Regions from separate parts of the Homo sapiens genome. Here region 1 is linked to region 2. The links are contacts of gene promoters, found by promoter capture Hi-C in blood cells and fetal thymus (Javierre and others, 2016). All regions are on one chromosome and are shown on one strand. Each heading gives the region's core, a stretch centred on a gene start or on the middle of the fragment in contact. The rest is flanking DNA. Distances are from core to core; before and after follow the strand shown.

Region 1 (7,068 bases), core at 1,305-3,804, 2.0 Mb after region 2:
CTGTTATGCAAAACGGGCCGGCACCGGCGCTCCCACTCCAGGTACCAAACCAGCCCCCGCGAGCCGCGCCCGGTTCCGCCCGGCCGCCCCTCTCCGTGCCCAGGCGTGTGCCAGCACCCGGGGCTCCTCCGAGGTTCCGCCGCATCCTCAGCTTCCCAATGACCCGCAGCCGGGCGCCCAGAGAAAAAGCCCTAACTCTGGAGCCAAACTTTATGCTTGCAACAGGCATTGGGTGGGGAAAATGGGGGAAGGGGTGGGGGCCGCGCACGCCTCGTGCTGACATTTTTGGTGGCTGCTTGTCCCAGCAGCACCCCTCTCCCAGTCTCCAAGCCACCAGCTTCCTCGCTCCCCCGCGCCCCGGCACACCAGAGCACCCTCTCCTGTCACGCGCGTGTCGCCAGTGGGGCTCCCGGGCTCAGCCAGTGCCTGGGACTCCGCCTCGCCTTCCCTTCCCCCTGCATCGTGGAGCGCGCACCGGGGCCGCGCACCGCAGGGGGACCCAGGCGCCCCCAGACAGTCCTTCCGCCCCCATCCAGCCTGGCTTTTCCCCCCAGGGGGCTCCGCCCGATAGCGAAACCAGGAAGACGCTGTCTCCGCCCGCATGTCCACGTGCCCCGCAGACCCTTATGCCTTTAGCCGGCAACTGGCAGGAAACTCCGCGCTGCGGGCGCGGGTAGAAAGCCGCGGGGGGCCAGCAACAGCACTCTGGGGACTACAGCCTGGAGGACTAGGGGACTCCGGAGACCCGGGCATGCACCCGTGCCGGGGCCACAAGTCCACGTGAAAGTACGGCAGCAAGTGCCGGGCGCTGACGGCGCGCCTCCAGCACCCAGCGCCAGCCTGAGGGTACCCCACACCGTGGCGCGCCTCCACCTCCCAAAGGAAGCGCGGTACCCCCCAGTTTTGCCCGCGGGGTGGCAGACTCCAAGCGGCCAAGGCTAGACCCTCCCCAGCGGCCGTAGCGCCCCCAGCGCTCCGGCACGCGCCGGGAGACCTCCGGCTCCCTGCCCCGGTAACGGAGCGCATCGCAGGGCGCCTGGAAGGGGGGCTCTGCAGCCTGGAACCCCCAGTTACCCCAGGGCTCCCACCGCTGCCTCCCGGCCTCCGCGGCTGCAGCTGCGGCCCCCGCAGCTCAGCACCCCTGGCCCCGGGCCCGCAGCCCCAGCCGGCCGTACCTGCGTGTCAGCGAGATAGTTGAGGAAGAAGGAGGAGAGCTCTTCGTCCAGCAGCGCGCCGCAGTCGTTCCCCGCCATCTTCCAGCCGCGGCTGCAGCGTGCGGCGGAGTCAACGCCGAGCCGGCCCGGGGGGAGGGAGCCAGCGAGCGAGCAAGGGAGGAGGGAGGAGGGAGTGAGGCCGGCGGGAGGCGGAGGGCGGAGCTCGAGCCCCCGGCTGCCGCAGGGCCGCTAGCTGCGGGGGCGGGGCCGCGCGGCGCCCGCGGGAGCCGGGGGTCGCTCACCCACTTTCCTGCGCCGTGTCTGGCGCCGCGACCAGCTCACGCAGCCCTCAGCAAGGGGTAAAGCGCAGGCAGCCAGGTGGCGGTGCCCCAGCCAGCAGCCCGATGCCTGCGCAGCAATGCGGGCAGCCCCCGGCTCCTGCCAGAGCGAATCACGTTGCGTTAGCGCTGGGCGGGTCCTGCGAGACAACCTGCTTCTTCTGCACAGCTGGGGAAACTGAGGCTCGAGAAGGAATAGGACCTCGTTCGAAGGCCGGGCGCAGTGGCTCACGCCTGTAATCCCAGCACTTTGGGAGGCCGAGGCGGGTGGATCACCTGAGGTCAGGAGTTTGAGACCAGCCTGGCCAACATGGTGAAACCCCGTCTCTACTGAAAATACAAAAAAAATTAGCCAGGCATGGTGGCGGGCGCCTGTAAGTCACTCTTCATATCCCTCCTGAAAAAAAAAAAAAAAAAAAAATATATATATATATATATATATATGTATGTATGTGTATATATATGTATGTATGTATGTATGTGTATATATGTATGTATGTATGTGTATATATATGTATGTATATATATGTATGTGTATATATATGTATGTATATATATATGTATGTATGTATGTATGTATGTATGTATGTATGTATATACCTAGGACCTCGTTCAAAGCTACAGCGCACATCAGTTGCAGGAAGGGAAAGCTTAGGTCTTACTCCCCTGGAGGACTGTTTCTCTACCCAGGCTACAAGGCCAGAGAAGGAGGGAGAAATACCATAGATCAAAAGCAAAGAAATCAAGGAAGTCTCCTTGGAGGAGGAGGCATTTTTATCTTTTACTTGAAGGGTGCGTTTGCCTATATTCTGTGCTAAACCTGATCATATATCTCTCTCTGCCATCGTCCCCAGCACCCTTCCCCCAAAAAACTCCAATGAGTTCTCTTACCAATGCCCACAATGCATGAAGGGGCTGGGCTCCTGCCAGCCTCCGCAGGCCCGCTCACAACGGGCTTGCCACTCACCTAGTAATCTCTTCGGGGCATCTTTCCCTATTACCCCTTGGACTGTCAAGCCATTTCCTCTCCTTCCACCTCCACCATCATGGGCTCCCTTAGCTCCACCAGCAGGCCTTTTTTCTCTAAAAGCTGGTCACAGTTGCCGTTTTACATTTGTTGCAATGAAGACTTAATCTTTGTATCTCTCCTTACAAGACTCTAACACCATGAAAGCAGGGCCTAAATCTGCTTTTGCACTTGCTGTATCTGCCGTTTCTGGCACATAGTAGGCACTTAATAGATGATGTGTTAACTGAAAAAGCTGGAGAATTTTGATTCTCTGCCACCACCACCACCACACATTATACAGATAAGGAAACTGACTGTCAATGTGTACATGGAGTGACTGCCTGAGCCAGAACCAGAACTCAGACCTCCTGACTCCAACCTTGAACTCTCATCATCATGCCCTGTTGTTTACCAAACAGGAGATGAGGGCACTGCCTGGATGAAGGCAAGAAGGCGGGAAGCTTTAGGTCTGTTTTATTGGGCACGCCTGCCTCCTGCCCTCCTCCCACCCTACACTCATAAGGGCTGCCCCACCCTGCCCACCTAACAAGGGCTCCCTTCCAGCGGGAGAAGGAAATAGAGGGAGAGTCCCCAGCACACCTGCTGAGACTTGAACACCAGGGCAAAAGCTTCCTTCTCCAGTCTGAGGTTCCCAGAACCGCAGGCCGTGATTTCACTCTTTGGGCTTAAGGCCAGTGTGCTTTTAAGGAACAATGCATTCCAACAGAGAGCCTGCATCTAGCCTCAGAGCCCTAGACTAGGAGTTAGGAGTCCTGGGTTCTGTTTCAGACCCTGCATCTGGATACTGGAACATCTTGTTCCAGTATCCAGCAATTCAGGGGGTGAAGAGCGTGGGCCCTGGAGTCACACTGCCTGATTTGGAACCACAGCAAGTCATTTAGTCTCGGGCCTCGGTTTCCTCATCTACACAAATGGGGACCAAAAAACCACCAACTTCATAGGGATGTTTTGATGATTGAGGAGATAATATATGTACAGTGCTTGGCACAGTGCCTGACCTCATGGAGAATACGCTAAGCGCTCTGTTCTGTTTCCCTTCTGTTAAAATGGGAATAAGAAATATATATCCCTTAAAGGCACTAGCCAATGTTACTTGCCTTTTTTCCAGCACTTACAGGCTGCTGGCGTACTTTGGACTCCAGTATATTCAGATTTGAATCCTGGTGCAAACTAGCTATGTGCCCTTGGTCATTTACTTAACCTCTCTGAGCCTCAGTTTCCTCATCTGTAAAGTGGGGATAGCAATGGTACTGCTCCACATAGGGATCTTGTGAGGATGGATTGAATGAAATAATGCAATTCATGTAAAGTCAGTTGCCTGGCCCTGAATCTTGCAGGTAGGAAATGCCCATCATCACTATAATCATCACCAACATCACCAATGTCATCACCATTAGCACTAAGGACTTGAATTCTCCCAAGACCCCATTTTTTTTGCTACTCCCCTGGGCACCAGAGTCAGAGTCCTGTGGGATGGTTTCTGGAGATGTCCCTTCCAGGCCCAGCCTGGCCCCTGACTGGTGGTGTGTCCTTCATAGCCCAGAGGCCAAACTTGGGAGTGTCCCCAAAGCCAGCCATCTCTAGCCTTGGTCCTTGCAGAGCTGCAGTGCCATTCACTGCCTTGCCAGGGAAGGCCTGACAGCACTTTCCCAGAGGCTTTTTTGTTTTTAAAACTCCCGTGTTGATAGAAAAGCCACACATTGCCCAACGTCAGGGACTTTCTCACCAGTCACTACATCCTCACAACAGTCTTCTGGCTGGCAAGAAATTTAGGTGAGAAAGGGCCTCACCTGAGATATCTAGCGTCCTTTTGAAAAGCATATTGTCCCAGAAATTCCTTCATCACAGGTTGCTCACAGAGTCTCAGCCTCATGGAGGAATTTGAAGTTCCTCTGGCCCATGGAAAAATGTGAAGTTCTTAATTGAGATTAAAAGTCCTGGCCTGGGTGTGGTGGCTCATGCCTGTAATCCCAACAATGGAAGGCTGAGGCCAGAGGATCACTTGAGTCTAGGAGTTTGAGAACAGCCTGGGCAACATAGGGAGATCCCATCTTTACAAAAAATACAAAAAAAAAAAAAAAATTAGCCAGGGTTTATGGTGTACACTCGCGGTCCCACCTACACTGGAGGCTAAGATGGGAGCATCACTTGAGCCCAGGAGGTTGAGGCTGTAGTGACCTGTGATCATCACTGCCCTCAAAAAAGCCTGAGACCCCATCTCAAAAAAAAAAAGCCCTCAAAAAACCTGAGGTGCTAGATGATCTTGTGCCATTTGCTTCTCCTCTCTGAGGCTGTTTTCTTATCTATAAAATGAAGGAGCGGCCTGGCCTGGTGGCTCACGCCTGTAATCCCAGCAGTTTGGGAGGTCGAGGCAGGCAGATCACCTGAGGTCAGGAGTTCGAGACCAGCCTGGCCAACATGGTGAAACCCCATCTCTACTAAAAATACAAAAATTAGCCGGGTGTGGTGGCGGGTGCCTGTAATCTCAGCTCCTCGGGAGGCTGAGGCAGGAGAATCGCTTGAACCTGGGAGGCGGAGGTTGCAGTGAGCCTGGGGGTAAGAGCAAGACTTCGTCTCAAAAACAAAAAACAAAAAAACGAAGGAGTGGTCAGTTGGGCGCACTCCAGCCTGGGGACAAGAGCGAGACTTCCTCTCAAAAAAAAAAAGAAGGAGCAGTCCGGGCGCAGTGGCTCACGCCTATAATCCCAGCACTTTGGGAGGCTGAGGCAGGCTGATTATGAGGTCAGGAGATCTAGACCATCCTGGCTAACAGGGTGAAACCTCATCTCACTAAAAATACAAAAAATTAGCAGGGCGTGGTGGCCCCCGCCTGTAGTCCCAGCTACTAGGGAGGCTGAGTCAGGAGAATTGCTTGAACCCAGGAGGCGGAGGCTGCAGTGAGCTGAGATTGTGCCATCGCACTCCAGCCTGGGCGACAGAGCAAGACTCCGTCTCAAAAAAAAAAAAAAAGAAGAAGGAGCTAGCCTAGATGAACCTCTACAGAGTCCTGCAGCCCGGATGTTATGGCAGTTTATAGACATCAACCAAACCTTAGGGCTTTTCTGTACTGAGCATGTGCCCAACGCCTGAGTTTATAGCATCTCTAATCCTTCCAGCAACCCTCCGTAGGGTAAATCATGATGTCCATTTTATGACTAAAGAAACAAAAGTTTAAAGGGGGTTAAAGTGATTGGCCCCAGACTACATAGAGACAACAGCTCAGATTTGAACCTGGGTGTGTACATGGTCTGAGCCACAGACACTGGAAAGGGAGTGTGAAAAGTCTCATAGCATCTAACCTCCCCAGGAAAGCTAGAAGGGCAGCGCGTGTCCTGTTTGATAACTTCCAAGTGAAGGGCAATAATAATGCCAAGCTTGGACATTGTGTGGCTTGACTCCTATCTTCTCTGCCTTTTTTATCAGCCTCGCCTCCCTCAAGATTAGTGAAAGTGAGCCCTGTGCATACCTAGTGCAAAGCCCAGAGCTCCCCAGGCTCCATGGAAATGGCTACAGCAAAATGAACCTATTTGACTTGAATATTTTAGTCACTACCGACAAATGCTCAAAAGTTGAAACATCAGCATTTTCTCCTTTCCAATAATAAGATGATGCTTTATTCAGACACTACATACAGCTGTGGTTCTCAGACTCTGGAGGGCATGACAGTCACTTGGACACTAACGCCAGAGATTCCAATTCAGTAGGTCTGGGGTGGGCCCAGGAATCTGTGCTTAATAGGCTCCCCTACTGTAGGAGATGAGACATCATTCAGCAGATATGTAGTGAGCAGCTACTATGTGCCAGCCACTGCGCTAGATGCCATGGATAAATTGGTGAACACAACAGCCGCCATCTCTGCCCACATTCTACTCAACGCAACTGCTTAGTAAATTTGTGTTGAATGAGGGAGGGAGGTAGGACGTGGGTCTTGGCAAACGCAGAGGCTTCCTGCCAGCCACCCACGATTCTGTGATTCTGTGACCCAGGCCAGGGAGCCAGATGCTCATCTATTTCCCAGCTTCTGTCCAGGAGGCAGGGACTCAGGCCAAGAGGAACTAAAAATCTCCCTGCTTTGTATTGTTGATGCTGAGAACCATCTCCACCTCCCATTGAATGATAGAACTTTAGAACTGTGGAGGGGCAGTGGAAACGTGTTTTCCACCAGCTTCACTGTAAATGTGGAGGAATGTGGCTGAGGTCACACAGCCCTTTAGTGGCAGAGCCAGAACTGGAAGCCAGGGCTTCAGATGGTATGTGGAGTGCTCAGGTGACTTCCATAGGATGAACTTCTCCTCAGGGCTGACCCTTTAGAACAACATCAGCTAGATGGTATCATTTGAGGGTCTCAGAGTCAAGGATTGGGGCCCTTGACACTTGAAAGCCCATGAAGTAAGTAAGGCTCTTCTTGTGTTTAGCAATGCTGTCTCCTTCCTGTAGGGTTAACCTATGAACTCACCAACGCATTTGGGGGAAATAGCTAGCAGATCACTTTCTGTTTCATAAGCTACAAGTGATTAAAGGGCTTTCAAATCAGCAGGTAAGGGGC
Region 2 (6,429 bases), core at 2,086-4,585:
TCCCTACTAAGTAGATGTGTATACCATCCAGGAAGCCAAATTTCTGTCAATCATCTTTAATCTTTACTTTTGATTAAGTACCTAAGATACAACACACATACCAAGAACTTATTACATGACAGACTGGCCACCTGACAGAAGAGGGACTCTATCACAAAGTCGCCTAAAGACCTTATTTACTAAGCTACAGGCTGTGAGGGCAATTTTTTTGAAATTGCTTTCCACCTTGTAAGACAGAATATTAAGACACTATTCGTGTGTGTGAATTATTCCTACTCTTAACCCTATCACCTGGCTTGCAACTTGACCTTCCCAACTAAAGACAGACAGGATGTCCAAGAATACTTTTTTAAAAAAAGTAAATAGCTGATTTCTGAGATATAAAATTATAAACCTAGTGTGCCACCACATTGTGATCACCAACTACATGTAAGATAATAGTTGCTGAATCTAAATTCAACTCCAGGGCTTGTACTGGAGTACTGGAAGGGCAGTACTGCACTACCAGAGATTTTTCCCACTTGCTTTTGACAAATTACTGGGGGGCGGGCGAGGCTTTCCTTTTTTTTTTTGACCTACCTACTTCCACAATTATCCATTCTTCTTTGTAAAGTCAGTAATAGTTTCGTCCAAGGAAGCCAAAGCACAATATAATTAAACAAACATACAATGCCTATTTAAATTCTGAAAGTTAAAAAAAAAATCAATTTGCAAAATGTTAAAAGACCAAGTGGGCAGTTTTATCAGACTGACAAAAATAAAGAAAAAAAATATAAAATTGGCTTTAGTCACAAATGTAAGCTTTATGTTAAATTTTATCTTTTAACACTAGCCCCATCAGTCCTAAGGACGATATAAAATTCACAAACTTTTACAAAAACTTAAAACTGCCTTCTGCCGTTCACTTTCTATGCAAAATACTAGAACGAGTGGGAAAAAAAAAAACCATAAGTTACAAAAGAAAAACTGCTCTAAGTAGGTCACAAACAAACATTACCAAAATCTCCTAATGTTCCCCTGGTGCAGTGTCAGCTCAGGAACAGCAAACTGAGTTAAACAAAGAACTGTCTACTTTTCTACCTGTAAGAGGTACAAAAGCTTAGACTTTTGTACCGGTAAGCAGCTCCAACAAAACTGACGTATGACTTGGTAGGGATGTAGGGCAGCCTTGCCAAGCCTTACATTACCACAATTTGCTTCAATTCACTTGTTCCTGATAAATGCACAAGTAATCAGTTAGAGCACCAGTTTGTGAAATAATCACGTAATTTTCATGTTCCTGCCCAAGTGATAACCATTTGCCTGAGGCCAAGAACTGTATTTTTTTAATATTTTAAGTAGAAACTAACGAAATTTTCCCTCAATAATGTGTAAGGTAATTTCATTCTATTTTGCCTCAAGCAGTAATAAAATTAGCTGGACTCAAGCTTAAACAGTTTAAATGTAGGTCATTCTAGTGTTTTTCCATTTGACAACTTAAATTGCTCAACTTTAAGTCTAAGTTAAAATGCTAATTCCATAGTTAACCAGTCTGTAAGGGCAAGTAACCGGAATCGCCACACCAGCAAAGTTCCAAGTAAATGTTACTTGGAACATTATTATAATACTGTTATAGAAACATGTTTATAGAAAGGGTTTCCAGAACACGATTATAGAAATCTTTATGTTTATAGAAGTGTTTCTATAACATAGAAGATTTATTTCACTAAGCCAAGGAGTATGTTGGCTTTTAAATAATCTAAAAGATGGTAACTACTAGAAAAATATAAGCTCCAGTCCCTGAAGAAAAGCATCTTGTTTCTGCATATACACAAGAACCCAGCAGAGTAAATGCTAAATAAACGGAGTGTACACAAACTTTCATCCACAGATCTCGACTGTCACAGTTGTTTTTTCCAACACATCTCCAACACCAGTAATTCATCCAGCATGACACGCTCCACAGAGGTCCAAATAGTATACTGTAACTGGGCGCCAACCTTTCTATTCCAATTCCGTATTTTAACCCACAGATGCTAGTGAGATCTTAAATTCGTCGCTTTGCACCTCATTCCCTTCAACTATAAAGTGAATCTTCTCAAGGTCTTTCTGCAAAAGTCTCCTCCAATTAAAAAAAAAGTAGAGAAAAAAAAATTCAACGTCTAAAACCGGAGCCTAACTTCCCGCTGGCGGGAATTTCCCATCAGCAATCTGAGATTCAAACCCGATGAGGAACACAGTCCATGTTCATTTGCACTTACTCATCGTTTTCCCTACTTTTTTCCAGAAGCTACGGTGGCGGCACATCTACCCAGGGCCTGTACAAGTACACGTAGAAAGGAAGCCCAAACCCTTTTCCTTTGTCACATTCCCACTTCCAACCCTTGTCTCCCTGGAAGCCCAGAACTAGCCCAAGTACAAATGCCGCTGCAGCCTTCTCGGCAGGTGGCCTTTTGAGGCTGATGCTGCCCCGAGGGACAAGTGCTCTGGGGGCAAAGACTAAAAACAGGCTTGGGAAGCGGGGAGCTCGGAGTCAGAGGGCCCGGCGTCAACAAATCCCCGCCCTTCCCGTGCGTGCCTGTGACCCCGCTCTCCAAACCCGTGCCTTGGGCCGCTAAGGAAGGAGGATAGCCGTACCCACCTCGCCAGCTCACTGCAAGAATCAAATGAAAGGCAGAAAAGTGGCTCCGCACAGTGCCGGACACACAGTGAGGGCGTGGAAAGAACATTGGTTGTTACTACCACTCCGTGCACTCGCTGCTCCCTCTTTGCTCTCTGCAAAACCGAAGGCGCTTCTGCGACGCGCGGACCGCAAGACTCCAATCAGACTTTAGTGCTGCCCCCACCCTAAACGAAAGCCTCCTTCTGGTCCGAACCGACTGGATCCCTTGGCCAGGGGAGGAAAAGGTGCCGCGGGCGCGTGGCGGAGAGGGTGGCGGGCGGGAAACGCTGGGCGCGGGACCCCTGGCCCCAGAGACCGCCCTGGGGCCCAGGCGGCGGCCGCGGCTTACTCCTGCCCCGCGAGGCCGTTGGACGCAGCACGCGCACGCGGCGGACACGGCCACGCGCCCCAGCCGGGACGGGAGCGGGAGCGAGGAGCCGCCGCGCGCCCGTCCGTCCGCCGCGCGCGCCTGCGGCCGTTGGGGTGGGGGTTGGGGTGGGGGACGCGACTGGCGCGGCCGCCGCGAGCGCCACTCAGACTTCTCCCTCTCACAAGTGCTGCGGCTCGGCTTAGTCCTCTGGCCTCCCTGCCCCGCCCACACCCCGGCGTACCTACGCGGCTGAGCTGGAGAGGAACTAGCTCTGCACCACAGCACCGAGGATAGTACAAACCCCTCACGCAACTGCGTCCGCACACACGCGTGCTCCGCCGCCGGTCTATATAACTGCCACTCACCCTAACTTGTTGCGGCCAGGTCGGGCGACGGGATGACCAATCCCGACCGCGTCCTCAGGGCTCTTCGAACAGTAATTGGGCACTGACTCGGGGATGAAGGCGTGGCTCTTGATTGGCTTTGACTCCTGCCTATGAGACTGTGAGGATCTCGTTTCCCTAGTAACAGATCGGCACTAAGAGAGACCAATAACCGAAAAGTACAATAGAAAGGCGAGTGAGCAGTTCTTTGACTGATACTCAAAGTAGCCAATAAATGTGTGGGGCTGCTCTTATTCGTTAACACGTCTTCCCCTGGGCGGAGATCCGTTTTCCATGCAGGAGCGGTTGCGCCACAAGGTGGGGCCCGTGTACTTTGGGGAAGTAAACCCCTAGCAACTAGGAGGCGGGCGTCCGAGAGGCCAAGACAGCCTGTGGCCAATCGCAACGCCGGAAGGAGCTGATAGACACGGAGGTTGCTCTGCTCGGAAGAGACCGAGCCCCAGGGCCGCCGTGCCCTCTGGGCGGTTGTGAGGCTGTGCAGCCTGCGGCTTCTGCCCTCTTTCTTTCCCTGACTGGTTGGGTCCGGCCTCCGAGGCCTGTACCCCGCCTTTTCCGCATAGGTTTGTACCTGGCGAACCAACTAGTAAAGTTTCCCGGGTTGTTTTCTTTTTATTACAACTTTTTTCTTACGTGCGGCGGCCAAGGGCCTTGCTGCTCTCACCATTACTCAGCACTGCTGCGGGGCAGAGGAAGGAGGGTCGTTCCTGCGCCGCCCGCAGGCTCCCGCCGGAAGGTCGCCGGTGGAAGGCCTGAGAGTGCGCCCTTCCGCCAGGCGCTTCTTGGCGGGCGCTGCGAGGCGGCCGCGGGCGTGTGGCGAGGCTCCCTTTGTGGCAGCTGAGGCACGGTGGTCCGCGCGTGCTCCAGTGGAGTGTGGGCCCTCGCACCACGTCCCGAGCTGCACCACTATTGTTCAGCCTCGAATTGCCGCGGGTGGGGGCTTATTCTCGTCGCTACGCCTTTAAAAGGCAACTCGTCCCCTCCTCCTGGCGTTTCAGGCACTGGCGGGGCTACAACTCAAGGCTGGCCGGCCCTATTTCTATGGAAATAGCTTTGGTTCCCAGCCGTCCGGCACAGACACGCCCCGGTTTGTTCTCGTTCCAGGCATGTGACCAGGGTCTCCCGCGGAGTTTTGCTGAGAATTTTGGAAATGAAGCATGTGGAGCGCCTATGTCGGGGGAGAGAGGCCGAGCTGAAGGAGCACGGGCGCCGGCCTCGGCCTCTGGGGAGCCGGGCCCGCTCGCCTCCCTGCGCGGGGCTAGCCCGAGCCTGGAACTCGGGAGGCCCAGGAGCGAAGTGAAAGCCCCTTCTGGTCCCCCAGGGCTCCACTCCCGCAGCAGCCCGGCTCCGTCGGCGTCAGTGGAGCCCCAGGCCTGGGTCCGAGATGAGCGAGACGCTGCTCTGGCTCGCGGTCGCCCGAGCGCTCCCAAAACCAGGGAACAGGCCCCAGGAGAGAAGCCCCTAGAAGTTTCCTGGAGCAGGGAGTCTCCTGTATCCTGTTAGCTCTGCAAAGGAATCTGGACTTTATTCTGAGGGCCTTGGAGAACCCCTGCAAAGTTTTTTAAAAGGTGGACTAAGAGATTGGCATTTCACAACATGACTCTCCGAATTGAAACACTAAGAAGATTGGCGAAATTTAACATTTACAGATTAGTAATTTAACCCAGGTGACTCGCGATGAGGGACATGGCTACCCTTCACTTTTGGAGGGAGTTTTAAGTGATACAGATCTTTTTGCCAAGCAATTTTTTTTTTTTTTTTGAGACGGAGCGTCGTTCTGTCGCCCTGGCTGGAGTGGAATGCCGTGATCTCGGCTCACTGCAACCTCCGCCTTCCTGAGTTCAAGCGATTCTCCTGCCTCAGCCTCCCTAGTAGCTGGGATTACAGGCGCGCGCCACCAGGATCTGCTAATTTTTTTGTATTTTTAGTAGAGACGGGGTTTCACCATGTTGGCCAGGCTGGTCTCGAACTCCTGACCTCAGGTGATCCACCTGCCTCGACCTCGCAAAGTGCTGAGATTAACAGGCGTGAGCCACCGCGCCCAGCAGCAATTTAAAAATCTAATAAAATTGTGCATATCCCCCAAAACAATAATGTCACTTGGTTGATAGCCACATTTGTTTACAAAGGCATGTGCCAAGACTTTCACTGCAGCTTTGTCAGCATTGCTAGAAGATTTAAAACCCGAACACTTAATGTTCATCAATTGATAAGCTGTTTTAACAGTGATATACACGTAATATAGAATATTATGCAGCATGCCGGGCGCGGTAGCTCACGCATGTAATCCCAGCATTTTGGGAGGACGAGGTGGGTGGATCACCTGAGGTCAGGAGTTTGCGCGACCAGCCTGAGCAACATGCGAAACCCCGTCTCTACAAAACAAATTCAAAAACTAGCCGGATGTGGTGGCACACGCCTGTAATCCCGGCACTTTGGGAGGCTGAGGTGGGAAAATCACTTGAGCTCAGAAGGCAGAGGTTGCGGCAAGCGGAGATCTGCACTCCAGCTTGGGCACCAAAGTAAGACTCTGTCTCAAAAAAAAAAAAAAAAGAAAAAGAATTTCGTCTTTAAAAAAAAAAAAGAAAACTCTGCAGAGTTACTAATAGTCATTGCAGAATTGTTTGTAGTAGAAAGAGCCAGAAAACAACCGAAATATCTGGCTGAATGAAACTGGTTAGATAGAGCACTGCAAAACAGTATACTTACAGTAGACTGTCATGCAGCCATACAGAAAATGGGGTAGATCTACTTGTATAGTTATAGAGCAGTCGCCAAGAGATATCAGTAAATGAAGGAAGCAAAGTGCAGAATAATGGGAAAAGTATTCCTGGGTTTGTATAATAAAGGAAGAGGGATATCATGGGGTGATTATGTCCATTAAGACATATGTATTGCTTTAGTTATCTGCACTACACATTTGTTCCCATATGTTTTTGCTGTTATACATGCACAGGTTATGTCTGGAAGGAGTCACAAGAAAATGTTAATGAATATTAATGATTGCTAAGGGAGAC

What was found. The method cuts DNA at HindIII sites, captures the fragments that hold promoters and counts their contacts. A CHiCAGO score of 5 or more calls a contact.
Region 1: a fragment that was not itself captured here is called in contact with the fragment with the promoter of G3BP1 in region 2 in 1 of 17 cell types (fetal thymus); the score reaches 5.1 in fetal thymus.

What each region holds. Positions count from the first base shown.
Region 1 is chr5:149,724,528-149,731,595 of GRCh38, reverse strand. PPARGC1B (PPARG coactivator 1 beta) reads right to left here and starts at 1,286. Exons shown (of 12, transcript NM_133263.4): 1 at 1,176-1,286. The coding sequence starts at 1,253. RefSeq lists silencers at 1-38, 49-148, 949-1,628 and enhancers at 619-668, 679-798, 1,037-1,687. The HindIII fragment of the contact is 820 bases long and covers 2,145-2,964 here.
Region 2 is chr5:151,768,860-151,775,288 of GRCh38, reverse strand. G3BP1 (G3BP stress granule assembly factor 1) reads right to left here and starts at 3,335. Exons shown (of 12, transcript NM_005754.3): 1 at 3,253-3,335. LOC100652758 (a long non-coding RNA gene) reads left to right here and starts at 3,113. Exons shown (of 2, transcript NR_132345.1): 1 at 3,113-3,586; 2 at 4,517-5,496. RefSeq lists silencers at 2,709-2,778, 2,829-3,158 and enhancers at 3,367-3,661, 3,919-4,148, 4,527-5,248. The HindIII fragment of the contact is 14,997 bases long and covers 1,430-6,429 here.